Regions from separate parts of the Homo sapiens genome. Here all the other regions are linked to region 1. The links are contacts of gene promoters, found by promoter capture Hi-C in blood cells and fetal thymus (Javierre and others, 2016). All regions are on one chromosome and are shown on one strand. Each heading gives the region's core, a stretch centred on a gene start or on the middle of the fragment in contact. The rest is flanking DNA. Distances are from core to core; before and after follow the strand shown.

Region 1 (4,838 bases), core at 2,339-4,838:
ATCCAGATGAAATGTGGCTGCATTTTTTCTCTTCTTCAAATACGCCAAGATCAGAGTTTAAGAAGCTTTAGCATGGTTGCAACATCATGCTATTTAAGGAAACTGCACTCTAAAGAATGAAGGCTGTGATTCCACCTCTGGATAGAGGGTGAAAGCCACGAACTCAGCAGTTCCTAGGAATACCATCTATCTCCTGGACAGCACCCACAAGCTGCTGGGGGAATGGGGTTGCACCCCTCTTGCAGCTGCATAACCTGGGGGCAAAGTTCCAATAAGGTACTCTTGTAGGAACCGTTTCTTTACACTGCTCTATAGACTGTCAGTTCAGGGCTTCCGTGTGTTAATAGCTGCTTGACTGGAGTAAGCTCTGGAAACCAGATTCAGATTTTAGATGTTTAACGTTCACGCAGTAGAAGCCCGTTTCAATCTCAGTGTCGGAAGGTCACATTAGTTCTACCCATTGAGCTATCGCTTACAACTGCTCTCTTAGGTTTGCCTTCCAAGCCACTTCCTTATTCCTGCTTTTCTGATAGTGTCATACTGAATGGCTTTCCTTTTACTCCTACACTGTGATTTTTATTTAAAAAAAAAAACAACTCTCAGAAATTAGAGCTGGAAAGGACTGTTGGTTTGTCTAGTCTCAGCAGGAGTGTTCTCCATAGAATATTTCCTTTAGTCCTTAAGACAAATTGCAACATTTTAGTGTTCTGGTGAAAAGCCAGCCTCATCCCGCTGCGTCGCCGACACTTGGCCCAGCATCTGCCTGCCTGTCCGTATATGAATGTGCAGGAGCACACTGCAGCCAACCCGGTAACCTTGACTCTGGGTGGCAAAGATGATCATAATTCTCTTTTGAGAGGACCTGGTGCCTCAAGCAAGAGGGCAGAGTCTACGTGACTAAAACATACCAACTTCCTCTTTCATAAGTCATCACATGATGAACTACAATTACAATTCCTGCCTTGTCTCTGCGAATTGCAGACGCATTGCCTCACCCTAGAAACCCTGCTCCTGTGTGTGGAGGAGGCGGCTGTAACTGCTGCAGCAGCCGCTTTGGATGGGATCCAACTCCAGTCTGTGCCGGGAGGGAGCGGTGGGTGGAAGACAAAAACAAAGCTATGTTTACTTAGCATACATCGATAAAGCTGCTTCAGAGCTACATGAAAGGCCAGGCTGCATGAAAGACTTCTGATACAATATAAGGAATTGCTGCCCTGAATCCAGCCTTAACCCCCTTGATTCCGGATCGAGCCCAGAACTAAAATAGCCCTTCCATTTTCCATCGGGCATTTCATTAGGGAAGTTACAACAACTCAGTTTCGACATGAAACTGGCAGTGTAAAATAAGAAGGAAATGCTCTTCCTTTGGAGAAGAAAAGCTCCGTTTTGCAAAGATCTTAGTATCGTGGCAGAATTTCTATCTCTAATTCTATTTTAGGATGGAGTGGCAGGCTCTCCCCTTGAGGCCATTACAGTACCAGCTTGCAGAGAAATGAGTATAATTAGGCCACAACTCTAATGGTGAGTTGTGTTTTCTTTTAGTATGTTTCAGTCAATGCTTAGTGGGGCCGTCTCTTGGGGGCGATGAGTTGGTTCATTTCTCTGCAGCACAAGGACTGGACTTCATCCCCTTTGGGCAGTGACGCAGTGGGTGAAGGCATGTACTGGAATGAGTGTCACAGGGTCTCTGAGGAGGGTGACCAAAGGGACAGGTCTTGAAAGCGGTGTGCAACAGCAGGGCCTGGGAGTGACCAAACCCGCTGGCACCAGCTACTCCCGGGAAGGATCTGGACAGGCCCCATTCTCCCAGCTTGGAGAGGGTGAGGCAGGATTGCAATTGCAGGGCAAGATCCAGGAACAGATGCAGAGACCTTTAAAACAGGCGCACCTTCTATGGAAATCCCCAAAAGACATTCAAGGTTAGCCTGTAAAAACATTTAGGTCTGACATTACGTTTTCTGTGCCATTTTCGAACAGGTTTTTTCATGTGTTTTAAGCAGCTCCCTCCACTGTTTCTCTAAGGGTGTTTTTCCTCTTCCTTGTGGTTAATCCTTTGAAGCAACCTGGTATTTTCAATAGCAACGACTAGAGAGAAACGTCAGCATGATTTTTTTTTTCTCTCCACCTACCAATCCAGTTGTAGGAAAGATAATATAATTAGTACCCTGTTCTTCCCACACTTAACCAGCTCATTCCAGTCTCAAGGGAGAGTTGTGGGCCTGTGTTCCCAACAAAAGCAGCTCCAGAGGCCGCCCTTAAAGAGCTTAAGTGTAAAAGTCCCAATTGAAGAGCGACTAAGCCTACGTGTATTAGGGAGACTAACGACCAGCCCAAAGTGATTTACCATAACACACACTAGCTCCTCCTCCCGATAAAAGTGCGAAACTCAAACATTCAATTCAGTCTGGGCTGAGTCTGAGGCTGCCAACGGTGGCAGACCTGCAGGCCGGGCTCATCCCGGCCTGGGTGGCATATAGGGCAAAAGTCCGCCTCCGTCGGCGGCCCGCCCTGCGGGACGGCGGGCCAGCCAGCCAGCCGGTCGCCCCCACGGCCCTCGGGAACCTCGCGGAGGCGAGCAGGACCCCCCCCCCCCCCACTCGCGCCCTCGCCTCCCGCCACCTCGAGTCCAAGTTCGGGCCCGGGGGCGGCGCCTCGACGCCCAGACTCGCCGAAGGGGGTGGAGCCTGCGCTGTGACGCGGCCGCGCTGGCCGTAGACCCCGGATCCCTGGAATGTGCATTCGTTCCACGAGGCCCTAGTGCCAGCGGCGCCGAGGCACGTCTGCGCGGAGCGTGCGCACTCGCGGCGGCGGCCGCCCACGGCCCCGCGCCCACGTCACGCGCCCGCCGCGCATACCTACATAAGGCAGCCGGGGCGACTGGCGCGGCGAGGCCCCCGATGAACAGGGCGGGCTGGACGGGGCTAAGAGCGGCACTTGGTGTTCGGGAGAGGCTAGTCCGAACCGCGCTCCCTCCCCTCCAGAGGGCTCCGTGGAAAACGCGCGAGCCAGCTGGCGGCGTGTGCACGTGGTGCTGGGCTTGGGAATATTCACAGTCTCCCTAGTTAGTAAAAGGGACAGGCGGGGCGTATGTCCTTTCCAAGACAAATGCAAAGCACCAGTGACGGATTTCATGCTATGTGTCCGACATTGAGCTTTCAAGTATAACTCCTAAAAAACCAGAACTGTGAACCACGCTAGACCTAAATTCCCCATTCTCAGGAGACTGACGGAAACCAAGTGACAAAGTGTCCTTGCATAAAAGAAAAAAAATGATTTTTAGCACGATTTGGCCCAGAGGCACACCAGAGGAAAACATCCTGAGGGTGGTCGGGACAGCCGGGTGGGGCGCGAAGTGAGGGAAAGTGGAGGAAAAGCACTCGATCACTTTGCGCGGTGTTCCGAAGGGAACACCGGCGCTGCGCTGCTGCGCTGCCCCGCGGGCGGGCGGGCGCCGCGTAGCCGGCTCTCCCGGCAGCGCTCCTTCGGCGCGCGGGGGGAGGGGGAGCGCGCGCGCGGGAGGGCGGGCACGCGCACGAGGGGAGGGGGCCCGCGCAGGCGCCGTGCGAGACTGTCGAAGAATCAAGTCTGTAGAAGTGGAGCGGTCGCGGCGGCAGCAGCAGCAGCGACGGTGGCGGCGGCGGAGCTGAGGCGGGCTGGCCGCTGACGCTGGCGCTGGAGAGCGGCGACGCCAGGAGCTGTGAGAGAGCGGCGGAGCGACCCGGGGCCCGCGCCGCGCCCGAGCTCCACGCCGCCCGGCCGCCGCCACCCCGGCGCGGCATGCCCCGCCGCTCGGGCTGAGCCTGCCCCGGCGGCCGCCCCCCGCCCCCTGCCCCCCCGGCCTCCCCGCCCCCCGCCCCGCACTCCGTGCCGGCCGCCGCCGCGACCTGCTGCGCTCCCCCGCGCCCGCGCGGCCCGTCTTCGCCCCGGTCTGGAGGCCCGCCGCGGCTCCGGCCGAGCCCCCACCGCCGCGCCCGCCGCCCCGCCGCGCCGCGCCGCCCGCCCGTGCCCGGGCCGGCCGGGGGGAACTGCTGCCGCGGCTGCAGCCCCTCACCTCGCGCCCGCCGCCCCTCGTGCACCGGGGGCGCTGCGCGGGCGCCGAGCCTTCGCGGGCTTTGCCGCCGCCGCCGCCGCCTTTGCGGCCGCCGCCGCCGCTGGTGGGGGAGACGCGGGGTTGGGGGGGGAGGAGGGCGCGCGTGGTGCCGGTGGGGGGCGGCGGCGGCGCCCCCTCCTCCTCCTCCGCCTCCTCCTCCGGCGTCGCGGGCTCCTCGGACATGGCCGCGGCGGTGGCGGTGGCGGCCGCGTCCCGGCGGCAGTCGTGCTACCTGTGTGACCTGCCCCGCATGCCCTGGGCCATGATCTGGGACTTCACCGAACCCGTCTGCCGCGGCTGCGTCAACTACGAGGGCGCCGACCGCGTCGAGTTCGTCATCGAGACGGCGCGGCAGCTCAAGCGGGCGCACGGCTGCTTCCCGGAGGGTCGCTCCCCACCCGGCGCCGCGGCCTCGGCCGCCGCCAAGCCGCCGCCGCTCTCCGCCAAGGACATCCTTTTGCAGCAGCAGCAGCAGCTTGGCCACGGCGGCCCCGAGGCGGCCCCGCGCGCGCCGCAGGCCTTGGAGCGCTACCCGTTGGCGGCCGCGGCCGAGAGGCCCCCGCGCCTCGGCTCTGACTTCGGCAGCAGCCGCCCGGCAGCGAGCCTGGCCCAGCCGCCGACGCCGCAGCCGCCGCCCGTGAACGGCATCCTGGTGCCCAACGGCTTCTCCAAGCTAGAGGAGCCGCCCGAGCTGAATCGCCAGAGCCCGAACCCGCGGCGCGGCCACGCGGTGCCGCCCACCCTGGTG
Region 2 (4,838 bases), core at 1,467-3,966, 500 kb before region 1:
CTTGGTACTTGGTGGCATCTGTTGAACTGAGGAGCATTTCTCATTGTAAAGATTGCCTTTGTTCTGTCTAAAAGTCTGGAGAAATCCCAAAGACTTTTCCTATGTACTAGGCATTTTATTTTGATTGACTTACAAACTCTTCTTAATCATTATCAATCTCGGTTTTTTTGTGGTGCAGTGGAAGGAGAAATAGGTCTAGTTTCTGCCTCTGATTAGCCGCACAGCCTTGAACAAATCACATTTCATCTTTGAACTTACCTCTACTGTTAGACTAGGCGACTCACATTTGAGGACTTTTCTCGGGTATCTTGAGGGTTTGTGATCCTGAACCCTTAAACAGTGCTTTTTTGTTACACAGGAGGGCTTTTTTGGGGGGATGACCAGTACAGACATGCCAGTTAGTTTTACTAGTGGGATCCCAAATCCAAAGCAGTGTAGTGGTGATTGGTCAGTGACTAACCAGGCAGCTAAGAAGTCTTAGGCAGCAGCCCAGACATGTATAGAGGGGCAGTTAGAGGGAGAACAGGGGTGGGAAAGGGAGCAAGGGGCAGATAGCTCAGCAAGGAAAGAATGGGCTCAGAAAAAGGAGGGCTGGCTGGAGGAGTGAGGGGCAGCTTAAGTTTGGGGAGGGTAGAAACGCCGTTTCCTTGGGAACTGGAGTGCAGTATGAGCTGGGTGTCACTTGGCTCTGAACATACTGGCTTTGCTGTAATGCTTGAAAAGGCGTTGGTATCTTCATTTTACAGTTCATTAACCCAAGTACGTTTTCTTATTTAAATGACAACTTTGGTGCTTTAAAATGAGGTACCACTTTTTAAAGCTAGCTGTGTCGAGTTAAAGAAAAAATCAGCAGTTTTTTCTCCCAGAAATGTAATTGCCAAACACTATTCATCCCCATCTTAAGTTTTACAAGGTGATGTAATCAGCTTGTTGTAGTGATGCTGGCCAAATGGTGCTCAGCAGGTGAGAACAAAAAAACCCCAGATCTCAGTGAACTAATACACAGCTTGAGCGTTTCCATGTGCTAATGTTGCACACTTACTAAAAAACTTTGGAAATGGAAAATAATGTATTAGTGCAACAGTTGATGTGCTTCTTTGGGCAAAGATATAGTTTTGTTCCACAATTTGTACTTAAAAGCGAAAGAACATTGAAAACATAGACTTACTGGCTGTAGCAATGCTGGCCTGTTAACTGATAACTAGAACTTAGGTTCACGTTTATGTAAAGTGTGTAAAACCTAGTAGAGCTTGCATAGTCGGCACTCAGTAAATGTTTGGTTCCTTTTGCCCCTTGGTAAGTTTATTTTACCATCCTCCCACCTGCCATTCTGACTTTATTAAATCAACATGTGGACCAGAGTGTTAATGAGATGTTATTGCAGAAGAGATTGAGAAAATTGGTATATCATGCAGATAACATACAAAATCTTTTTGTAACGTAAAAAATGCAGTTTTATTATTGCTTGTGCCTCAACTGTTTAAGTGAATATTAAAGGGCTTGGAGAAAACTTTGGCTTGGCGTATGTTTGGAGAAGTGAACTCTGCTGAATTTATTGAGTCTAAAGCTGTGGGTTTTTTGTTGTTAACGTCTTTGAGGATGTCTAGGGCCGCAGGCTTCCCTGCCAGAAGAATGCACATTTGCTTCAGATTCCAGGTGAAGAAAATCCCTGTGGTAGTGTCAGCGCCTGAGGGCTTCCAGGTGGTGGTGGGCCCAGCGTCAGGAGATAGCAGTCACCTGGGAGGCCCGTTACAACAGGTTCGTGAGAGGAGCCCAGTGGTGGTGGTGCTGACGTGCGAAACATGAAGGCTTGTTAGAGAAACCAGCTGTGTTAAGGTGACAGAATGTGTACGTTAGCACTGTAAAAAGCAGCTAATTGGTAGCAGAACGTGCTAGCTGAGAATACGTTGTATTCTACATCACTGATAATGATCTGAAGTGTACAAGTCATCAGTATCAGATCTATGAGAGTTTTTGTAGTTTTGCTCTAACATAAATTTCTCTTTGCCACCTCCAAAGTTATTATATTAATAGTAAAAGTAATGCTTTGGAGAGGGTGGAAGGGGGTATGCCCTAGCCTCCACAGCTCCTGCCACAAACTGCCCAGATAAGCAGGACCTGAGTGTGTTGAAAGGCTGAGTTGAAGAGCAGATTGACACAGGAGGGCTGGAATGAACGTTGGCTAGAGCAGGTGTGTCCAATCTTTTGGTTTCCCTGGGCCACACTGGAAGAAGAAAATTGTCTTCAGCCACACATAAAATACACTAACACTAACAATAGCTGATGAGCTAAAAAAAAAAAAAAAAAAAAATCATGGTGTTTTAAGAAAGCTTATAAGTTTGTGTTGGGCCACATTCAAAGCTGCCCTGGACCACAGGTTGGACAAGCTTGGGCTAGAGCCAGAGGCCATGGGAGACAGGATGCAGGGCAGGGAGTAGGGCCTCTGCCAGAACTCCTTAAGCCAGGTGCCATGCTCACCTGTAATCCCAGCACTTTGGGTAGGCCAAGGGGTGGGAGGATCACCTGAGGCTAGGAGTTCCAGAACTTGTCTGTTTTGTTAGTCTCTATTGCCCAGGCTGGAATGCCTCTCAGGTTCAAGCAATTCTCATGCCTCAGCCTCCCAAGCAGCTGTGGTTACAGGCATGCGCCACCACACCCAGCTAATTTTTGCATTTTTCATAGAGACGGGTTTCGCCATGTTGGCCAGGCTGGTCTCGAACTCCTGGCCTCAAGTAATCCACCCTCCTCGGCCTTTTAAAGTGTTGGGATTACAGGCGTGAGCCACCCTGCCTGGTCAGAAGACCCCGTCTCAACAAAAATGTGAAAAAATTGGCTGGATGTAGAGCACACCTGTAGTCATAGCTACTCACGAGGCTGAGGTGGGAGGATCGCTTGGGCCCAGGACTTCGAGGCTGCAGTGAGGCGTGATGGCACTGCTATACTCTAGCCTGGGCAACAGAGTGAGACCCTGTCTCATAAAGAGAAAAGACAAATTTGCTCCTCTTTTAGCTCAGCCAAGAGATGCTGTTTTATCTAGAAGCTTCCCCTGGTGTCTCCATTCTTCCTGGGTGATTTCTCCCTCTCTGCTTTCAGCAGCCACCTGTAGCTGATGACTTCCTCCTGTCCCACTTCTTTCCAGCCTCACTGCCACTATTTTAGGTAACCCAGAGTTATTGCAGGTCCCATCGCCAATCCACACAGCTGCCTGAGGAATTGATCTGAAACATCATGTCCCTCGTATGGCATCCGAGGCCCTCATAATCTGGCCTGATTAACTCCGATCTCACCTCATGTGCCATCCTTCCCCCAAATGTGCCTTCCTCTTCAGCTGTCCTCCTGCGGGGCTCCCTATGCCTTGGGCAACTGTGCTTACCACCCCAGATAGCTGGATGAACAAAATAGTCCCTGATTTTACCATCTCATTGAGAGAGTCTTAATGTAGCCGGCCCAGGTCCAGGGTTCTGTGCCCCATGTTGATGATGCTGGTATCTCCATTCCTGGGATATTCCTATGGCATTTACCAATGTCTACTGTCACTTCCTGGTGACTTGTCCATCTTTCCTACCAGACAGCTCCCAAGGCATGTCTTACTGACCATCGGATTCCCCAGCATAGAGCATAGTTAAATGCCTAGTAAATAATGAATGGAAATCCAAATGAACAGAAATGGGATTTTTCACCACAAAATTTAAAAGATTCTTTGGGATTACACATGCCAGGTAAGTGGAAGGAAAGAAACATTGTGAGGAGTAATCTATTTTAAAACCCACTTAACTCACTTGGTTATTAGAAATAGTGTAAGTTTGAGAACAGGAGAAGGGAAGGGATCTATTTAGCTTTCTGCATATTTCTTGATAGCCTCCTAACCTAACAACAAAATGCCAAAAAAAAGCAAACCTGGCAGCCATTGAAGAGCATTCATAAAGGTTTTTGTTTTGTTTTTTTGAGACAGTCTGCTCTGTCGCCCAGGCTGGAGTGCAGTGGCACAACCTTGGCTCACTGCAGCCTCCTCCTCCCGGGTTCAAGCGATTCTCCTGCTTCAGCCTCCCGAGTAGCTGGGATTACAGGTGTGCACCTCCATGCCTGGTTAATTTTTTGTGTGTTTTTAGTAGAGATGAGGTTTCACCATGTTGGACAGGCTGCTTTCAAACTAAAAAAAAAAAAAAAAAAAATTCTGAGATGGCCTTTTAGAAAAAACCCAAAAACATAATTAAGAGTCATTTTGAACCACCCTTTCATGGAAACTTGCCAAATACAGGGATGACTTAGGTGTCATTATAGTTCAACATTTAAGGGTGCTCTGTGGCCCCGTCTATACCCTGCTTTTCCCAAACCTTTTTAAAAGACAGGATTGTTTTGTTTCTTAGCTTTCCCTTGAGCTAGATGAACTACAGATCAGCAGTCCAGGTAGGCAGCTTATTCAGAACTTTGACGACTTGGAATTTAGTCTACTTTCACAGGTGACAGATTTTTAAAATTCACTTATATTCAGAAAAAGAGGCCAGGCACAGTGGCTCATGCCTTTAATCCCAGCACTTTGGGAGGCTAAAGTGGGCGGATCACCTGACGTCAGGAGTTTGAGACCAGCCTGTCCAACATGGTGAAACCCCGTCTCTACTAATAATACAAAAATTAGCTGGGCGTGGTGGTACATGCCTGTAATCCCAGTTACTTGGGAAGCTGAGGCAGGAGAACTGTTTGAACCTGGGAGTTGGAGGTTGCAGTGAGCCATTGCACTCCAGCCTGGGCGACAAGAGTGAAACTCTCTCCAACAAAACAATACAAAAAAAAAAAAAAAAAAAAAAAGGATGCTGGCTAAAATAACCATGTCTTTACCA
Region 3 (4,838 bases), core at 1,384-3,883, 440 kb before region 1:
GGGAAGCCGAGTTAAATGAGCTCCCTCAAGAGATCTTCCTGCAATATTTGGGACGTGTCTGTGTGTGCGTGGACAGGGCCGTCTGCAGGCGGACCAGCATGCGGCGCTGGCAGGCACCTCCTGTGTCACCCTTCAGGCATCCAGGGAAGGAAGCAGATAAAATGAAGCTCTTCATGCCCCAAGTTCCATTTCTTCTTTGGAATGCTCGAAGGCTTCCCAGCTGTTCCGTGTTCAGGCCTGGCTTTCGAGAGGCTTCAGGCCGGAGGGGGGAAGGTGGCTGAAGCTGGTCCTCGGTCTCTTCGAGCCCCTCAAAGAACTCTCTGGGTGCATTAGAAACCATCCTTGTGCTGCTGGCAGCAGTTGCCATGCTGCTGAAGAATGGTGGCAAAGCCCAAATGGAAAAGGAGTCTTCTGTACTCGTGGCTTCCAACCCCAAAGAACAGAAAGCCAGGGCCCTCATTCTCCTCTGAACTGTTATCTGGATGGTTCACCAGGAGCACAGCTCCTGTGTTCCTCGCTCGCTCCCCCTGAAGGCCCTGAAGACCACATGATGTTGCCTGCCACTGTGGGAGTGACACGCTCCCCTGGTCTCAGCCTGGACGGGTCCTGACAGGTTCAGTGAGAGAACAAAGCGTCATTCTGAGGGTGAGGAATTTCACTCAGCAGCAAACATGTGTTGCGTGTCTGCTTTGTCTCAGACACCGTACGATATGCCGTTACATTTACTCCATTTCATCCTTGTGACAATCCTGTGAGATAGGAATTCCCATGTCCACCTAAGAGATGAGGAAACCGAGGCTCAGAGGGACAGGGAACATACAACTGGTGAGGGGCCAAGACGGTTCTAGAACATCCATCTTTTGGCATCAAGGAGAGTACATAGGAATCACCTAGCATGTTACTGGGAGGTCCAGACACTCAAATGTGAATTTGCTTCTCTCTCTAGAGAGCTACCAGATTTAGCAAATAAAAGGGCAAGACGTTTAGTTAAATTGGAATAGAATTTCATGTAAACAATGAATACTTTTTTTTTTTTTGAGACAGAGTCTCACTCTGTTGTCTAGGCTAGAGTTCAATGGCAGGATCAGAGTGCACTGCAGACTCCATCTCTTGGGCTCAAGTTATCCTCCCACCTCAGCCTCCCAAGTAGCTAGAACTACCAGGTGTGCACCACCATGCCCAGCTAATTATTTTATTTCTGTAGAGATGGGGTCTCACTATGTTGCCCAGGCTGGTCTCAAACCCCTGGCTTCAGCAATCCTCCCACGTTGGCCTCCCAAAGTGCTGGGATTATGGGTGTGAGCCACCATGCCTGGCCAACAAATATATATTTTTTGGGTATATGTTCCATGCAATATTTGGGATGTATTTATACAGAAAGGGTATTCATTGTTTATCTGAAGTTCACATTTAACTGGGTGTCTTGTGTTTATCTGGCAGTGCTGCTTCCAGGTGAAGCTTGTAGTTGGTTTAGTGCTGAAGGAGCCTTCATTTGCTGAGGCTGGGACTATATTCAGCTTTACTCATGAACTCTGCGGGCTCTCCAAAACTCTTTCTGAAATCAGCCTCACTATCCACAGTTGAGGTTACCAGGACTGTCAACCTGAGGAGAATCAGCTCTTCCACACTGAGCCCTGAAGATCACATGGCAGAGTGAGCTGGAGCGAGGTACCAGCAGACCTCTTAGGCGGGGCATGCACCCCCCGCAGTGTCCCATGTCCCCACTGTTCCCTGTGGCTATATCCATTCCACTTGACTTACTTTTACTCCTTGTCCAGGTCCTTGTGGCATTGTTCTTTCTTTTTTGAGACAGTCTCACTCTGTCACCCAGGTTGGACTGCAGTGGCACAATCTCGGCTCACTGCAACCTCCGCCTCCTGGGTTCAAGCGATTCTCCTGCCTCAGTCTCCTGAGCAGATGGGATTATAGGCGCCTGCCACCACGCCCGGATAATTTTTGTATTTTTAGTAGATACGGGGTTTCACCATGTTGGCCAGGCTGGTCTCAAACTCCTGACCTCAGGTGATCCACCCACCTCAGTCTCCCAGAGTGTTGGGATTACAGGCGTGAGCCACTGCGCCTGGCTGACATTGAGTTTTCAACTCTTCATCTACACCATATGTCAGAGCATTTCCTTCTTCTTGCAATGACAGCAAAAATACTGAGGCTTCAATTACTTACCCTCCTCTATTTCTGTTTTATTATCTCTCCCTGTCGCCATTTCCATGCACTGATGCCCACGCACAGGTTGTAGGAACCAACTAGTATGTTGCTGGGAGGTCCAGACACTCAAATGTGAACTTGCTTCTCTCCCTAGAGAGCTACCAGATTTAGCAAATAAACAGGCAAGATGCTCAGCTAAATTTGAATTGAATTTCATATAAACAATGAATACTTTTGTTTTCTTGAGATGGCGTTTTGCTCCGTTGTCCAGCTAGAGTGCAGTGGCGAGATGATGGCTCACTACAGCCTCCATCTCTGGGGCTCAAGTTAAGAGCCCTCCCCCATGGCTCAGCCTGCCCTGAGGCCAGTCCTCGTACATGGCACATGGCCGCCTTCAAGACATCTCCAAGAAGCCCTCGCTGAGAAGTCCCCTGGTGCACACACAAAATCACATTGCCATTTAGTTGAATTTCTTCATTGTATAGGTTAAGAAATGGAAAATGTGACTCTCAAGGATTATACACAACTAAAACTGTGTGAAACTGCAATGAGTACCCGGGCAATAGGGAAGTAGGAATTTCTCACCAACCCACGTGCCAGGATCCAGCCTCAACACTTGTGAGGATCCAGCCTCAACGCTCTGCACATCTCCAGTGTGGAACAGCACCATGCGCCTAATGAGTTCTTCTCTGACTGATTGATTGATTGATTACTAAAACACTCAGCGCTCCTGGCAAAGCAGTTCTCACTCTGTTGAACAAATTATCTTTATGCACTGCAGTCTCTTGAGCTTAGATGAAGGCAAGCTCACTGTAATCTTCAGATCATTTAGCAATGTCTTGGAATCACTGGATATGACAAAATATCCAGGCATGTGGAATAGGAAGGGGGAAGAAAAGCAGGACTTGGAGGGACTATGCTAGTGGATTTCAACTCTATATTTTCTAATCTGAACCAGGGGCAGGCAAACTACTGCCTTGTAGGCCAAATCTGGCCAGTGGCCTGTTTTATTACTGATTGATTGATTGACGGGGTCTTGTCTTGCTCTGTCACCCAGGCTGGAGTGCATTGGCTTGATCATTGCTCACTGCAGCCTCGAACTCTTGGACTCAAGCCATCCTCCCACCTCAGCTGCCCAAGTAGCTAGGACTACAGGCGTGCACTGCAACGCCTGGCTAAAAAATATATATATATATATATATATATATAATTATTATTTATTATTTTTTTTTTTTGTAGAAATGGCATCTTGCTGTGTTGCCCAGGCTGGTCTTTAACTCCTGGCCCCAAGCAATCCCTGACTTTATGGCACTTGCTCAGCCTGGTGTGACAGTGTCTGTCTCCTGGAGGCCAGGAGCCCCTGGCATGCAGCCAGCATGCCCCATTTATAATCGTAGCCCAGCACATGGAAGGGACCCAAGAGAATGACAGCAACGTTGGCTTTGCCATTTCAACCCTGAACCTCATTTTACTGTTCTATTCATATTATCTGGGGGACAAAATTTTCCCACATTCCTTTCTGTTGGTGCCACCATCTCTGTGCCTCCATGTGCTGCTGACCTGCCAAGCCCATGGCCAGCTCAGCACTCGGATTTTATTTGGTCTCTCGGTATGGGTTCCTTTATCAGCATTTCAAAAAGCTTTTGTGTTTTATCCATAATTGATTAAAGTTTGTAGCTGTGAATAAAAGATTGATTAAAAGCAACAACAGCAAAACAGCTCTTGTTTTTCTTCACCATCTGCCTTTCCCCAGAAGAGTCTCCCACCTCCAAGCAGACAGTCCTCGACGTGGATCCACACAACCTTACAAGTTTTCCTTAGACCCAAGAAAGGGAGGTGTGGGGAATGATCGTTACTTGCTGATACTTACTGATATTGCAATGCCAGCAATAAGAATACCATCTGGACTTTATCTGTGGTTGGTGTGTTTCATTTTGCATTTTATGTGATGGGTGCTGGGATTTGGACAGGCCAAAGCTCCCACCCTCGCGTTTCTCAGTGTACTGGGAAATGACATCACCTATGACAGGGCACTATGATTAGCAAGGGGAGGGGAGGGGCCAGACCTCAGCCCAGGAGTGGGGCTTGGGGCAGGCCCCTAGGGAGAAGCAGTGGCAGTAGCCAGAGCTGGGCTTGGTGTCCCGCTCAGACAAGTGGTGCAGCCAGCTGCAGGATTCACACTCACGTCCTCTGGTAGTAAGCTCTGCTCTCTGCCGGCCCTGACTTCAGAGCAGTGCTGAAGCCGGGCAGTCCTGAGGCACAGCCATATGTTTACAGCTTCTATTTTTTTATTTTTTTTAAGATGGAGTTTCACTCTTGTCGCCCAGACTGGAGTGCAATGGCATGATCTAGGCTCACTGCAGCCTCCGCCCCCCTGGGTTCAGGCCATTCTCCTGCCTCAGCCTCCTGAGTAGCTGGGATTACAGGTGCATGCCAACACGTCCAGCTAATATATTTTTTTTTTTTTAGAGACGGAGTCTTACTCTGTCGCCCAGGCTGGAGTGCAGTGGCGCGATCTCGGCTCACTGCAAGCTCTACCTCCCAGGTTCACGCCATTCTCCTGCCTCAGCCTCCAGAATAGCTGGGACTACAGGCGCCCGCCACTGTGCCTGGCTAATTTTTTTTTGTATTTTTAGTAGAGACGGGGTTTCACCGTGTTAGCCAGGATGGTCTCG
Region 4 (4,838 bases), core at 1,475-3,974, 410 kb before region 1:
GCCACCAAGCCCTACAAGACCAGAATTCCCATCTGCCTTTAGCAATTTTTTAAAAATGAGAGAATCACATATAAATATATATATTATAAATTTAAATATATAAATTATATATAACTATATACAATACATATATTACATATTATATTTTAAATATATTTGTATTATATATATTATATTTTAAATATATATATTATATATTTATTATATATATTATATATATAATATATAATATATATAATATATATTATATATATAATATATTATATATTTATATTTATAAATATAATATATATTATATATATATAACATATATATATAATATATATTATATATTTATAATATATACATATTTTTTGAGACAGGGTCCTGCTCTGTCATCTAGTCTAAGCTGAAGTGCAGTGACGCCATCATAGCTCACTGCAGCCTTGACACCCCCAGGCTTAAGCGATCCTCCCACCTCAGCCTCCCAAGTAGCTGAGACCACAGGTGTGCACCACCATGTCCAGTTACGTTTTTGCTTTCTTTTTTGTTTTTGTAGAGATGAGGTTTCGCCATGTTGCCCAGGCTGGTCTTGAACTCCTGGGCTCAAGGGATCTCCTGCCTCAGTCTCCGAAGTGCTGGGATTACTGGAGTGAGCCACTGCACCTGGCCTGCTTTTAGCAATTTTTTAGTGAACACTGTGGGCCATATGTTGTGTCATAGATGGCCATCCTTGTTCTTATGAGAGAGGCCCTGTGGTCTCCTCAGCTTCTGGAGCTGTTTTCTTCTTCCTGGCTAGGGTAGAGGCTCCATCCTCACTGTTCCTCCAGAGTGAGGACAGAAGCTCCGCAAGAAGCGGAGGACCTCAGACAGGCTCTGCTGCCCATGCTCAGGATCTGGCCAGAGCAGGCAGCTCTTGTGATTGGGGTGAGAGGCAGATTTGTCTCTCCTTCACGGTTCACTGTCACTGGGTCCCCATCCTCAGAGCAGGTTGCAGATGGCCGTGGAGCAGGCTGAGCATCACTCTGTTGTGAGTCCTGTCATCTGTCCCCTGAGGCTCTCCCCAGTGACGCCCCTTCCCACAGGCCTCCTGCCCTTCTCCTTTCTTCTCACTCCTCCTCACCACTAGGTCTTTCAGTGGATTTTTCCTCCTTAATACTCAAAGGGTGGCCTTCGTGTCCAGACCTGGTCGCTCAGCATATTTCAACCTCCTAAATGCAGTGACCAGCTAAACAATGAGGCTAAAGACACAAACTGGCTCAATGAAACCCAATCCCAGCTGATGACACAAACTGGCTCAGTGAGACCCAATCCCAGTGCTTTTCCTAGAGCTGCTGTTCTCTGGGCTGCTCAGTGAGGATGTGAGTCTGGGGTCACTGCCAGCTGTTTTCCTTCCCTGGGAGGGGAAAACTTGCTTAAGAATAACACCAAATAACAAAAGCAGAGACAGGCACTTCAGAACATTGTCTGAGCTGTGGGCCCAGCCATGCTTAAAATCTATTCCCAGACCTTCTCAGCACTGGGGCAGTTTGTTATTTTTATTTCAGAGACAAGGTCTTTTTCTGTTTCACAGGCTGGAGTGCATTGGCACAATCATAGCTCCCCATAACCTCAAACTCCAGAGCTCAAGTGGTCCTCCTGCCTCAGCCTCCCTAGTTACTAGGACTACAGGCGTGCCACCACTCCTGGCGAATTTTTTTTTAATTTTTTTATTTTTTGTGGAGACAGGGTCTCTCTATGCTGTCCAGGCTGGTCTCAAACTCCTGGCCTCAAGCGATCCTCCTGCCTAGTCCTCCCAAAATGTTGGAATTACAGGCATGAGCTATTGTTCCCAATCTTCCAATTTGTTATTTTTTTTCCTAAGCTACTAGTCACCAAGCGCTCTGATGAACACAGCTATCTTCACATGACCACGGGGTCTCAGAGAGTTCAGTCTAACCACTGGAAACAAATATTTTGTTGGACTCACTGCAGAACAGTGGACATAACTGAAAAATCAAGGGCTTTGGCATAAGACAGGATTGATTGGGTTTGAAACTTGACCCTGCTGCGTGACACAGTCTGTGAGGTTGGGCAAATTTCTCTAATACTCTGTGCCCTTGAGCTTGATCATTTGTGCAATACCGTGCTCCGATTAGAATACTCATGTCTACTGGAGAAACCTTGAATATAGGAAATTTGAATTATATGAGCACATTCTCTTCATGCAGAATTAGTTGAGTCTTCTGCCTCTGCATTAGAATTGTGGTCACTGTGATATGGTATGAAGGAATGACCTCCAGAGAGGTTAATTGGCTTCTCCAAGGCAGAGCACATTTCTGTAGGGTCAGGCTGAGGGGTTTGAGTGAGGAGTCCTATAGCTTTGGCCACCATGAACCTCACCAAGCATCCTACCCGCAGCAGCAGGCAGGGCGTGTGGAAGCCTCTCTCCACGGGGCCAACCCTCTAGGATTTCTGACTGGAGCCCTCCCACCCCTCCCCCGAAGGCTTTTCTGGATTGAAGAAATCTGTCCACCGTGAAAGTTTCATGTAGGCTGACAGAGAAATCCCCTTCCTCGTGGTGCCTGCTGACTTTCAGAAGCAAGCAAGACGGCGGGGAGGAAGTGTGGGAAAGGACTCAGATGAGTGTGGGGTCTGGGCAGTGCAGACACTTTGGGGCTGATGGTGACAAAAGCCAACAGGTGGAAGCAGTGCATGGGGAGGATGTGTAAGAGGAGACCACAGGGTGTCTGGGGTCAGAGGCTGCTGCAAAAATAACCTGCATCCGGACCAGGGATGGCCAGGAGTCAGTTTTCCAGATTTAACAGCAGCCTTCTGCCCTGGTGGCAGCCCCCAGGGCCACCTCTCCTGTTTATTTTGTACTGTAATGACATGCAATCAAAGAGCTCTATGGGCCCGGTACCTTAGCAGAAAAGTAAAGCTGGGAGATGGAGTGTGCAGGAACTATAGGAACAAAGGCTGCTTTCCGGCCAGTATTAGCATCTACGCTTTGTAGCCTACGAGAATGAAAAACAAACACCCTCAGTTGTTTAAGAGCTACGTTGCATGACTAAGGCAGTGATTTACAAATGGGGATGAAACTTTGCTGATGGGTTCCAGTGACTTCAATGGACCAAGAAAAGAAGACTTATTCCCAAGGTCTGCATGGCTGCCGGGGAGGGCTATTTATTATCATCTAAATCACAGTGACCACGTGAAGCTGTCCCAGGCAAGGCTGTGTAGCCTTGGTCGCTTGTCGGCTGCTGTAGGATCTGGTTGGCTTGCCACCTTGTCCAAAGATTCTAATTCATGACAGGGCTGTCGACGTCTAGAGGCTGTTCTGTAGGATCCCCATGGGCTCTCCACAGCTCTCTGGTATTTTTCCACACTTTCCTGAAACTGGATTCTCCCAAGGCCTTTTCTGGGCCTTCCATGATAACAGCTAAAGCAACATGCTTTCCATCCTTGTCGTGAGAGGGGAGTGTCTTGGTGAGGAACTTGTTTCTGATTTTCAGCTGACATCTTCCTTTCCTCTCCATTTCATTCCCGTTACTTCTATAGTATGGATACTGCCTGGGCCCTAACCAAACAGTTCCTCTCTCTCTCTGTGGCCAGCTCCTGCTCACACGCACGGATCTGGTGTGTGATATCCATCCAGCTCTGCCAATGTATTCCCCCGCAAGGCTGTCACTTGCTTTTCTAGCTCATTAATCATCTTTGTTGCTTTTCTCTGAATTTTCTCTGAGTTGATCTCTCGTTTCCTGGACAGAGGAACACAGAACAGCTGCTGCTTCACAGGCAAAGTACTGAAGAGAGCTCTTCTGTCTGGTCACAAAATCGTCCTTCTCCTCCCAAGCACGTCGTAGTGACTGCACCTGGGGCTGCGTGGAAATGCTATCAGCTTCCAAGGAGCTTGGTGTAAGCTGGGTCTGTCCGGGACTCCTTCCAAGCAAAGGTTTTTACTTTTTTTCAGAATTAAAAAGGGCTTCATTATGAAAAGAAAGTCTCTCACCTTATAAAGCAGGCTCCTAACAGGGACGAAGAAAGTGCTGTTCTGAGGAGGAGAAGGTATTCAGAGGGCCCGTGCTCATTCTGCAGGAGACATGGAGTATGCCTGCCGCCCGCCTCCAAGTCAGGACCCCAGGGCTGGAGAATCATGGGTCCAGGATAGCGGGGGACGGAGAGAGTGTAGGACCTCCCTCTACTCCTTACATTTTTAAAGTGAACAAACAGAGGCCCAAGTCATTGGCATAGTTTACCTTTGGGGCAGGAGCCTGGTATAATAAAGCAATCAGGGCCCGAGAATCAAAGGGCTGGTGTCATCCACTGGCTATAAGATCCTGGCTTTAACTTCTTTCCACCTTAACAACTTTTCAGTGAAGATGGAGTAATAACAATAATAACAGTAATAATGCCAATGAAAAAGAAGCGTCCACTCCCATCTGTCTTTGGTTTGGGGTGACCTAAAGGGTGCCCATCTGGCCCCAAAGAACAGGAATGGGAGCTCTTGCTCCCATCCTTGCTGGGTGTCCAGGGTTCTAATGAGACTTCCAAGTGTCTCGGATGCTGTGGGGTGGCTGAGCGATTTGCATTGATGTTATTGGGGGTACTCAAAGCACTGGCAGGATATTGATCGTACTTGTGGGGAGACACTGATGGTCCTGCTCCACGGGGAACAGAAAAGCCAGCCAGTGAGACCTCACATCACAGCCCTGGAGGAGTTCCAACTGGGGGCAACCCTTGCCCCTGCAAGCAGGCTTCCCTTTCCGTGCAAGATGTGGCACTCTCGTCCCATCCACCCTTCGGGCACTCAACTCCTGGGCATTGCTCCTTGTCACCTGGCACTGCCTCCAGAACTTAGGGGCCCCCAACCACCTATA
Region 5 (4,838 bases), core at 1,234-3,733, 330 kb before region 1:
TGACTTAATGTCAAAGGGGTGCTAAGATGGGAGAAGGAATCGGGGGCTTTTAGACCTACCCTGGGGTCAGTTTTTTGTTGCCCTCTCACGTGCAGAAAAGTCTGAACAATTGTCTAGTGAGCTTAACAGTGTAGACAACCGGCCCTGGCTGGAAAGGTCCCCAAGTCCCATTGCCTCTTTTTATTTTTGCTTAATTTATCCAGATAATTCCTTCATCTCTTCACTTCTTTTGATCTTTGGTGAATAGCCTCTCGGGTCCAGGAAGCCATCTGTTCCTACTTCCCTATTCTCATTCTCTCTCTTGCCTCCTTCCTCCTCCTTGTCCTTAAAAATGGGCGAGGCTGGCTGGAGTTTTCCTGGAAAGCCAGCCCTCACCTGGGAAGGGATCTTTTTCCAAGGGCATACCAGGCCCAATGCACCTGTCTGCTAAGGTGAACATGCCAAGCACTTGTCCCTCTCTTGGCCTATCAGATGCAGCTGAATACACTTGGCTGATGCTCCAGCAATTTGGTTATTCGTTTTCGTCTCTCGGCTGAGTGTCTACACCTGTTCAGAGCTTGGCTCACGCACTTCCTAGTTCCCTTGGCTGAGTGTCTGCAGCCATTGCATGTTTGCTCTTTCCCTTTCTCCTCACTTTCCCTCATTAGGTAAGTCCTTCAAGGGAGAAATAAATGGAGGTGGGGTAGGAGACGGGCACGCACGCCAGTGGCATTCCCTTTGAATAGCTGGAAAAGATCTTAGAACATAGTTTTCTGGTCAAGGCCAGTGTAGTAAGCTGAATTATTGCCTCCCCCAAAATATCAGGTCCTAATTCCTGGAACCTATAAATATTACAGCTGAATATTGGTGTCCTATCCCAAATTCATCTGCTGAAATCCTAATGCCCAAGGTGACGGTAATAGGAGGTGGGGCCTTTGGGAGGTGCCCTTGTAAAAGAGAGTGCAGAGCTAGTCCCTCCCACCATGTGAGGACACAGCAAGAAAGTCCATCACTATGTATGAACCAGGAAGCGAGCCCTCCCCATGTTAATGGATGGAAGGTCTTGACTGTGAGTTGTCTAGGTTCTTGGGGTGTTGAACAAAGAGTTGAACAAAATGCACAAACAAAGCAGCAAAAGAATGAAGCAATGAAAGACAAATGAAGCAACAAAAGAATGAAGTAACACAAGTACAGATTATTGAAGCGAAAGTACACTTCACAGAGTGGGAACAGGCTCGAGCCGGCAACTCAAGAACCTCCCAATTCGGGTTTTTATTAAGCTGAAATAATTTGGTAACACCCCTAGGTGCCCTTTAGAGGTCTCCAGTTGGTTCCATCTTATGAAGGATTGCCCTGTGACCAATCAGAGGCTGAAGTGGAAGCTTGGCCTGCTATCAATCAGAGGCTGAGATGGAAACTTCTGTCTTGTTATCACTGGAGTAAAAATGTGGCCTGTATGCTGCCTAATCTTGCCTAGAACTGGCTGCACCTGCTGTTCTTTTGCTTATGCCTTAACCCTTGGTTACCCTAATTCCCTATTCTCCTGTCTCACCCAGATATCACCTCTGCCAGTGTCCTGACCTTGGACTTCCCAGCCTCCAGAACTGTGATAAACAAATTTCTGTTGTTTGTAAGCCACTCAGTTTATAGTAGTTTGTTTCAGCAGCCTGGAAAAACTAAAACATTTACCTTATTTGGATAAAAGGAATTTTGCGGGGCTGGGTGAGGTGACTTATGCCTGTAATCCCAGCACTTTGGGAGGCTGAGGAGGGTGGATCACTTGAGGCCAGGAGTTCGAGACCCACCTGGCCAACATAGCAAAACCCCGTCTCTACTAAAAATGCAAAAAGTTAGGTGGGCATGGTGATGAATGCCTGTAATCCTAACTACTTGAGAGGCTGATGCAGGAGGATCACTTGAGCCCAGGAGGTAGAGATTGCAGTGAGCTGACATGGTGCCATTGCACTCCAGCAGCCTGGGCAACAGAGTGAGGCTCTGTCTCGAAAAAAAAAAAAAAAAAAGGATTTTGCAGATGTGATAAGAATTTTAAGATGGGGAGATTCTTCTGGATTATCTCGGTGGTCCCTAAATGACATCACAGGTATCTAGTTCTAGGCTGAATGTTCATGGGTGAGCCCACTAAGAGCTGCTGCTCCTGCTACCACCAGGAAGCTGGCCACCCACTGCAAAGCTGCCATACAGCTGCTACAATCTGTGCCCCCCAAACAGATGCCTCACATCCAAGGCTTCTGTCTCCTCTGAACCCAGTTCGAAATTCAAGTCTTGCATGACTACCTGTTATTTGAGGAATTTAAATTACAACTGGGACTTTGGTTGCAGGGGTGCCTGGGAAATGTGGTTTTTAGCATTCCAGCTTCTGCATTTCAGGAAGGCAACTTTCCGTTGTGACGGTAGTTGCACTCCAGATGCCATGGATTTTGAATGGGCCAGTCCAAAATTTCTTCCACAAGCACCTACTGTGTGAATAGTAGGGCTCTAAGCCAGTTAGAAAGCCCTGCACGCAAGGCACTTACTTTCTTATGGGTGTAGCTAGTAAGTTCATCAACAAATAAACCCAGTGATTTAAGATACTGTTATTTGCCACAAAGGAGATAAAGTAGTGTAATGAGGTAGTGACTAACAGTGGGGGTTGCTTTAGCTATGTAGATTTATATGTAGATTTAGCTAACAGAACAGTCAGAAAAATTCTCTTGACCTGGCATTTTTTGTTTTGATCTGAATGATGAAGAGGCAGCCATGTGCAAGTCTGGGGAAATGGTGTTCCAAGAGGAAGGAATAGCAAGTGCAAAGGGTTGGAGGTGGGAATACCTTGGCATGCTCAAGGGAGAGAAAGAAGCCAGTGTAGCTGGAGTGTGGTGAACGAAAGCAGGGTGGAAGGAAATGAGGTCGAAGGACTAGGCAGATGCTAGATCCCCAGGACCTGATGGGGATTTGGATTTTATTCTTGTGACAACAGGAAATCACTGGGAAGTTTTAAGTGGGGGAGTTAGAGTGGGTTGAATAGTGACCTCCAAAATTCACGCCCACTGGGAAACTCTGAATGTGACCTTATTTGCAAATAGGTTATTTGCAGAAGTAATGAAGGCAAGGATGAAGATCCATCCTGGATCAAGGTGGGCTCTGAATCCAATAAGAATGTCTTTGTAAGAAACAGAAAATGAGTCACACAGAGAAGAGGGTAATGTGGAGATGGAGGTAGGGGTTGGGGCGATACAAGCCAAAGAGTGGCAAAGATTCCCAGCAACCACCAAAAGCTAGGAGAGAGGCAGGAAATGGGTTCTCCCTTGGAGCCTCCAGAAGAAACGGATCCTGCTGCCATCTTGATCTTGAACTTCTGGCCTCCCGAATGCTGAGAATACATTTCTCTTGTTTCACCTCCCGGTTTGTGGTACTTTGTTATGACAGCCACAAGAAACAAATACAAGAGTGATGTGATCTAATCAGTGCTATAGAAAACTCACTCTGGCTGTGGTCTGGAGGTGAACCCTAGGAGCCAAGACCGATGGTGGCAGGGAGGCCTGTTAGGACTGGATGCGGCAGGGGTCCGAGTCGGAGATGCTGCTGCTCAGACTGGAGGAGTGTCTGGGGAGATGATGAAAAGCTTTCAGTTTCAGGATGTGCTAGGAAGGTAGACCCTGTGGATTTTACTCTTGGACTGGATGTTGGGGGATGACTGGGAGATGAGAAAGAGGAGTTAAATCTGACTCTTAGGTTTCTGGCCTATGCTGCTGGCATGATTTATTGAGATGAGGAGGCTTAGGGAGCTAAGTTGGGATTGAGACGCTTTTTGGTCATGCGAAGTTGGAGCTGCGTATTTGAAATCTAAATGGAGATGCTGAGCTGGGCAGTTGGGCTAGACCAGTCTAGGGCTTCAGGGATAAACAGACACAGGGATAACATTTGAAAGTCATCTACATATAGGTGACATTTAAAGTCTCGGGACTAGATGAGAGAGTAGATGTGGAAGAGAGAAGAGCTAATATCAGAGCTCTGGGGCATTTGAGTGATAGGTAGAGGTCCGGAAGAGACAAAGGATCCTGAGAAAGCATGGGGAGGAGGGAGGAGAAAAACCAGATAGAGGTGGGTGGCAAGTCACCCGAAGGAAGTATCTCTAAGACGAGATGATCAACTCTGATGCTGTTGAGGGCTCGAGCGAGACAAAGACAGTGGTGTGAGCATCAGCGTTGGCTCAACGTAGGTCTTTGGGAAACTATTTTAGGAAGAGGTGAAGGAAGAGCTAGACTGGGGCTATTGGAAGAGAGAATGGGTGGCAAGGAGGTTGTGATGGTGTCTGCACAACTCTTTGGAGAGTTTCCCTCTGGAAAGAAGCATGAAAATGGCCCGGGTGCTGGAGAGGGATGTGGGAGAGAGGACAGCGGCAGGAGAGGTGTCCATGAGGAGCGTGGTGATGTGATTCTGGGAACGAGTGGAGTTGTCAGCCCTCGACAGGCCAGGGGCAGTTCTTCTCTTGTGACCTAGGAGGAGGCAGAGCAGGAGCACCGGCTGCCGCCAGGGCTGGTGGATGGAGCTGGTGGCTGGAAGAGGTGAGGGAGGTCAAGCCCAGGGCTGGATCCCTGTTTCAGAACCTTGTGGGAAGGCATTCTTAGTCTCATATGTGGTCTGTTCATTCATCTCAGCAACATCCAGGTGGCAGGAGCCCAGGACTAAGCTCTAGCACTCTAGATCAGTGTAGAATGACTATAGTTAACAATAAAATACTACCTGCTTTCCGGCAGCTAGAAGGAGGATATTGAATGTTCCCAACACAAGGAAATGATGAATGTTTGAGATGATGGATATGCTAATTACACTGACTTGATCACTATACGTTGTATGTA
Region 6 (4,838 bases), core at 628-3,127, 290 kb before region 1:
TGAGAAGAACTAACCCCAGGGGCAAAGACAATACTATACCTACTGTTTGGGAGAAATGAATCTGTTATGTGTAGATAAGAAAAAGGTGGTCTGACCTGTTTCATTACTTGGTGAAAATGATCTTTGGTGGTGCTATTGCTTCCAGATGAATTTGAGTGTTTTGCAACCTGGCATCCTGGGGGGTGTGTGTGTGGCTGGCTGAAAATGCATCCCCTTGTGATGTGAAGCTCAGCTGTTGTTCCCCAGCCTGGGTTGTCATACTGCCTTCTGCTACCCCACACACCTCTTCACTTTCTCTTGCTGTGAAGCACTCACAGATACAGCAGCTCGGTTCCCATGGCGGTCCTTTTTCTTCCAGAAACAAAGGAAGGGGGGACTTTGGTGCCCTGTGATGCATGCCACCTAAGGGATATAATAATAAGATTTTTCAGGCCCCTGTTTCTGGAGTGATGGCACCCCTGTGTTTGAGGGTGATGGTGACAGTTTACAGTTGTGTCGAATTGTGACCTATGAGTGAAATCCAATTCAGTATCTCCTTTTGGGGGATGTACAGCTGTTGATGAAACCATCTAGACTTCAGTCACAATCTGTTGAGGTTTCATATTCTCTTCTCATGTGTAATGAATAGAAGAGTGGAAGCTACAGCACCCGGGGTGGCTTGTCAGGTGCAGAAGGTCAACAAATGCTGATTGAATGGCTCCTGTGTCAGGCACCGAGCTACGTGCTGGGTACGCAAGACTTGTGAGAAAAGTTCCTACAAAGGCCAAACGAAATTTCTGTAAACAAAAGCTGAAGGTGTTCTGAAGTCATCTAAAGGTGGTTACTTAAAGGAAAACGGATACTGCCTGCCCTCCATGTTTGTGTGTGTGTGGCCTCATCCTCTTCATACTGAAGGGTCTACCTCTAACATATGCAGAGCCCAGGGCAGGAGTGCAGAGAAAGTCCCTCGTTTGCCCAAATATACAGAAATATCAATCAAGCTTACAAAGAGTTAGAAAAAATACAGTTTGTTCTCATACTTCAAAAATATGCATAAAGACAAAATTGAAAAATTAGGTAAAGCTATAGTTTTTACATGATCCAAAGTTAGCAGATATAAAAAACGACTGAATCAATTATTGCCATACAGGTTTAAATATTCTTTTGTTTTGTTTGAATGACTAACAAAATAAAGACTCATAATTTATAACGATCATATATTTACTTCCTTAATTTTTTTGCCTTAATTTCATCGTGATCACAGATTCTGTCATTACAATGAACATTTTTACATAATTTTGTTCTATTGATAGCAATGAGCTAAAGGATTTTAAAAATGTAAATGTATTTAAAGTATGCAAAATTTGAATATATTTTCATCAAAAATGAGAAAATACATGTGAAAACATCAAAGAGGCATTTTCTCATATCTATTTTCAAAGAAGTTATTTTTTCTTGTAACATTAACATGAAAAGTCAAACGCAAAATTACAAATTATAATTAATAAGTGTCAAAATGGTAAATAAAAATTCTTGAAATAAAACTGACTTTTAAATTTGATTTTCTGTAAATGAAACAAAATCTTATTAAATACTTTTGTAAGTCATACTTCACATTTCTAGCATTCAATTTCCATCCAGTTGCCAACCTAAAGAAGCTCTGTTTTACATCATGCATGGGTGCATGTAGATCGACGTAGATACTGGCTTAAGAATAACAGGAATTGTTAAACGTTGCACGATATTCCTCTGCTACCTTGTACCATTGTTGCAAATACCATGTTACTTCTTCAGTATCTCCAGGAACAGGAATCAGAGCAGGAAGAGAGGTGGGGAAATGGGTGAACCGCTCCACTGGGAAACGATTATTCGTTATGCAAGAATCTGTTCATTCATGGTATCCGAGGGAAAAGGTCATATGAATTTGTCTTTTCTCTCACCCATATTAGTCAGCAACTCAAATCATCTCCCACTCCAAAACACTGTCCTCTCCGACATCAGCAGCCACAGTGCAGTCCACAGACCTCCATGGCACCTGGAGGGAGCGGCTTTCCTTAGCCCTCCCCACAAAGACATAGGGCAAAAAATATGGGGAAGCCACGGAGAAGGGTTTCCTGGCTACAAGAGTGGATGTTTGGGATTATGAGTGCTGGATCCCAAGCGACTGAGGGACCTCCGTGAGCATTAATGAAATGACGTTTTTTTTTAGCCGGGCGCAGTGGTGGGCGCCTGTGATCCCAGCTACTCAGGAGGCTGAGGCAGGAGAATGGTGTGAACCCGGGAGGCGGAGCTTGCAGTGAGCCGAGATAGCACCACTGCAGTCTGGCCTGGGCGAAAGAGGGAAACTCCTTCTCAAAAAAAGAAAAAAGAAAAAAAAAAAAGAAATTACATTTTTTTGTTTGTTTGTTTGCATTTGTGACTGTGGCGCTGTCTAAACCATCTCAGGGGAGGAGTCCCTTTTGCCTGTGTCTCCTGAGAGTGCTGACTACTCATATAGAGCAAGACCCTGCTGAAGAATAACCACTCGAGGCTGTCTCTTTTTACCTCCTGGTAGCGACTTATCCTTGCTCCAGGGGTTCTGGATGAGGCATCCTTCTTAGACAGAAGGGTGCTTTTAAGAGGCATGGGCGGCTCCATGGGTCACTTCTGTTCCAGTTGGTTCCTGAAGTGGTGCAGAGTTGGAGTAAAGGCTGTGTGGTCAGTTGGCCCAGACTAAGAGTATCCTTTTGTAGTTGGCATAAGGTTGTAGCACGTGCAGGCCTGAAACAGCTGCAGTCATCTCTCTGGGAAGCTTCTGTCCAGGCACTGTCTCAGGCTGGATTGCACTCTGTGGGCCCTGTCCTGATTGGGTCTGACCTGTGTCTGACCCTGTCTTTGCTCTCACCGTGTTCCTGATCTCACTTATTTGCTGTATCTTCCCCCAGGCCCTGTGCTGCATCAGTTCCCCTCTACCTGCTCACTTCACCTGGTCCCCTGATTCTCTCCTGGCTGACTGTGGCCGCCCCAGTAGTATTTTTCCCCTTCCCCAAAGACATAGGACAAAAGATATGGAGAAGAGGTTTGAGTTTCTTGTCCCTGAGGGTCTGAAAATGAGACCCAGAATGTGATCGGCATTCCCATATAGAATGAGCATACAAACAAAAATTTTCAAAAAGTGAATGTGTGAGTCGATAAGGCCCATGCAGCATTTTCATGGTGTCCATGTTACAGAAGGGTCACCACTAAGATTTCTACAACCAGCGTGGCAAGATAAGGGCTGGCCCAGATCACCCTGGCAAAATCTCGCATTTTGAAAAAGTTGGAAGACTCTCACAAGGAAAACCCATGACTGTAACGACGCCCACGATTCATCGATCCCCTCCATAAGTTGAGCTTTGAGCCCGGTGAAATTAGGTATGTCTAAAAACACATTCAGAATGTATTTAAATTGTGCTGTAATGCGACTGTTCTCAAGGATCCCCGTTTCTCTGGTTTCACGGATGTTTTGGTTGGATTGCATCTTGAAACTGCCTTAGCCCAAAAACATCTTCTTGCAGAAACAGCAGGTTCATTTCAATTCAATATTTCACTTTGGACGATTGCTTGACTTCATTGAGCGCCGCATGCTGAGACTTGGTCTCCCCGGGACCCACATGCTTCCTTCTCATTAGCATCGGAGGGAGCCTCGGCAGACAGATTGAGGCCAAGGAGAAGGCGGACCCCCACGACTCTGCGCCATGGCAGCGTGGAGCGTAGCTGAGCAGAAAGCTGGTGCACGCTAATAGTTGTAAATGGTGTTTTGCGAGCCATATGCTGCCTCTGATTGTATTTACATTGAGACACACAACATCTTGTTATCAAACAAGGCAAGAGGCAACACTAAATGGTAGGAGATAGCAACCTCAGTGAATGGCGGCGGCTTCTCCATTGCGCGCTGGTGCCCGGATGTTTAGTCTGGCAGAAATTCAGATCAGAAGGTCATTGCTGGGAAGTGTGACAATGCCATGTGTCCTGGGCTGACAGACTGCTTTGGAATGTAAGAGGAGGCTCTCTCTGCACCCCAAAGCAGAAGAAGATTCAGGATTCTGCTGCCTGGCTGAATTTTTCCTCTAGGAACTGTTTGAGGCCCTGGGGCTGAGCCCAGTGTGAACCCAGTTTACCCTCAAGTGCTTTTCTGGTTATGCACCTTATGAAGCTGAAACTCTGGGCATGGGGGTGGGGGTAGGGGGAACTTCAGAGGTTTATCTGTGAAAAGATGTGGCTGAGACGGTGCAACACAGAGGCTGACGTGGAGGCCAGGCGGTGTCTGTGCAGGGCTGGTGCCTGCTTTCCCAGGTGGGGTATGTTGTCATCCTGCAGTCATGCTGGGCTCTGGAGAGCAGGCGTGACTGTTTGCACTGTGGCTCTGCCTGAATCTGTGTTTTGTGGCTCTGGGAGGCACAAACTCCCCAGGTACAAGTTATGTAGAACTGAGGTTCCAGCTCAGGTTACCTGTGGCACAGGTGTCTCGGAAAGCCCTCCTCCGGGCTGAAGGCAGCTGCTCCTGCCCCAGCAAGTGGAGCTGGTGAGAAAGGACGAGAGGTTCTTTGTGTCTTGGTGAAATCAACCTCAAAATCACATGGATTGGGGAGCAGCCCTGCCCTTGCCAAACTCCTTATTGGGAAGGTGTTGGGGTGTTGAAAATGTTCTTTCCTGTTCAGAGGGAATGTTAAGGCAGAAGGGGAATTTCAGCAGGTGACACGGCAGAGAGGGGTGGACCTTCCGGTTTGTGCTGGTTGTCACTGGGCAGACACATCGTGGCCGTCTCATGAGCCTAACCAGGGAGCTGGACTGGAAGGCTTTAAGGATCTGCTCTGAACCCGAGATTTTGTTAGGCCTGT

What was found. Contacts are between HindIII fragments. The CHiCAGO score rates a contact against its expected background, and 5 or more counts as called.
Region 2: a contact is called between a fragment that was not itself captured here and the fragment with the promoter of IRF2BP2 in region 1, in 13 of 17 cell types (erythroblasts, naive B cells, naive CD4 T cells and 10 more). The highest score is 11.2, in erythroblasts.
Region 3: a fragment that was not itself captured here is called in contact with the fragment with the promoter of IRF2BP2 in region 1 in 15 of 17 cell types (activated CD4 T cells, total CD8 T cells, erythroblasts and 12 more); the score reaches 9.1 in activated CD4 T cells.
Region 4: a contact is called between a fragment that was not itself captured here and the fragment with the promoter of IRF2BP2 in region 1, in 1 of 17 cell types (non-activated CD4 T cells). The highest score is 5.2, in non-activated CD4 T cells.
Region 5: a fragment that was not itself captured here is called in contact with the fragment with the promoter of IRF2BP2 in region 1 in 9 of 17 cell types (monocytes, activated CD4 T cells, non-activated CD4 T cells and 6 more); the score reaches 10.8 in monocytes.
Region 6: a fragment that was not itself captured here is called in contact with the fragment with the promoter of IRF2BP2 in region 1 in 5 of 17 cell types (monocytes, endothelial precursors, non-activated CD4 T cells and 2 more); the score reaches 7.6 in monocytes.

What each region holds. Positions count from the first base shown.
Region 1 is chr1:234,608,928-234,613,765 of GRCh38, reverse strand. It overlaps IRF2BP2 (interferon regulatory factor 2 binding protein 2), which reads left to right and starts at 3,588. Exons shown (of 2, transcript NM_182972.3): 1 at 3,588-4,838. The coding sequence starts at 4,272. RefSeq lists enhancers at 674-723, 1,004-1,063, 3,214-3,313, 3,416-4,113 and silencers at 2,364-2,963, 3,444-3,633, 3,694-3,793, 4,174-4,253, 4,494-4,773. The HindIII fragment of the contact is 9,061 bases long and covers 68-4,838 here.
Region 2 is chr1:235,106,013-235,110,850 of GRCh38, reverse strand. It overlaps TOMM20 (translocase of outer mitochondrial membrane 20), which reads left to right. Exons shown (of 5, transcript NM_014765.3): 5 at 1-1,510. Among named protein-coding and RNA genes, the nearest start is that of SNORA14B, 20 kb to the left of the region's middle. The HindIII fragment of the contact is 653 bases long and covers 2,390-3,042 here.
Region 3 is chr1:235,050,442-235,055,279 of GRCh38, reverse strand. No RefSeq gene overlaps it. Among named protein-coding and RNA genes, the nearest start is that of LINC01348, 17 kb to the left of the region's middle. RefSeq lists enhancers at 1-22, 4,217-4,286. The HindIII fragment of the contact is 2,345 bases long and covers 1,461-3,805 here.
Region 4 is chr1:235,021,396-235,026,233 of GRCh38, reverse strand. No RefSeq gene overlaps it. Among named protein-coding and RNA genes, the nearest start is that of LINC03108, 43 kb to the right of the region's middle. RefSeq lists enhancers at 2,412-2,471, 3,600-3,649, 3,730-3,789, 3,830-3,879. The HindIII fragment of the contact is 8,342 bases long and covers 1-4,838 here.
Region 5 is chr1:234,939,678-234,944,515 of GRCh38, reverse strand. No RefSeq gene overlaps it. Among named protein-coding and RNA genes, the nearest start is that of LINC02971, 15 kb to the left of the region's middle. The HindIII fragment of the contact is 2,240 bases long and covers 1,364-3,603 here.
Region 6 is chr1:234,898,705-234,903,542 of GRCh38, reverse strand. No RefSeq gene overlaps it. Among named protein-coding and RNA genes, the nearest start is that of LINC02971, 56 kb to the left of the region's middle. RefSeq lists an enhancer at 4,176-4,838. The HindIII fragment of the contact is 1,790 bases long and covers 983-2,772 here.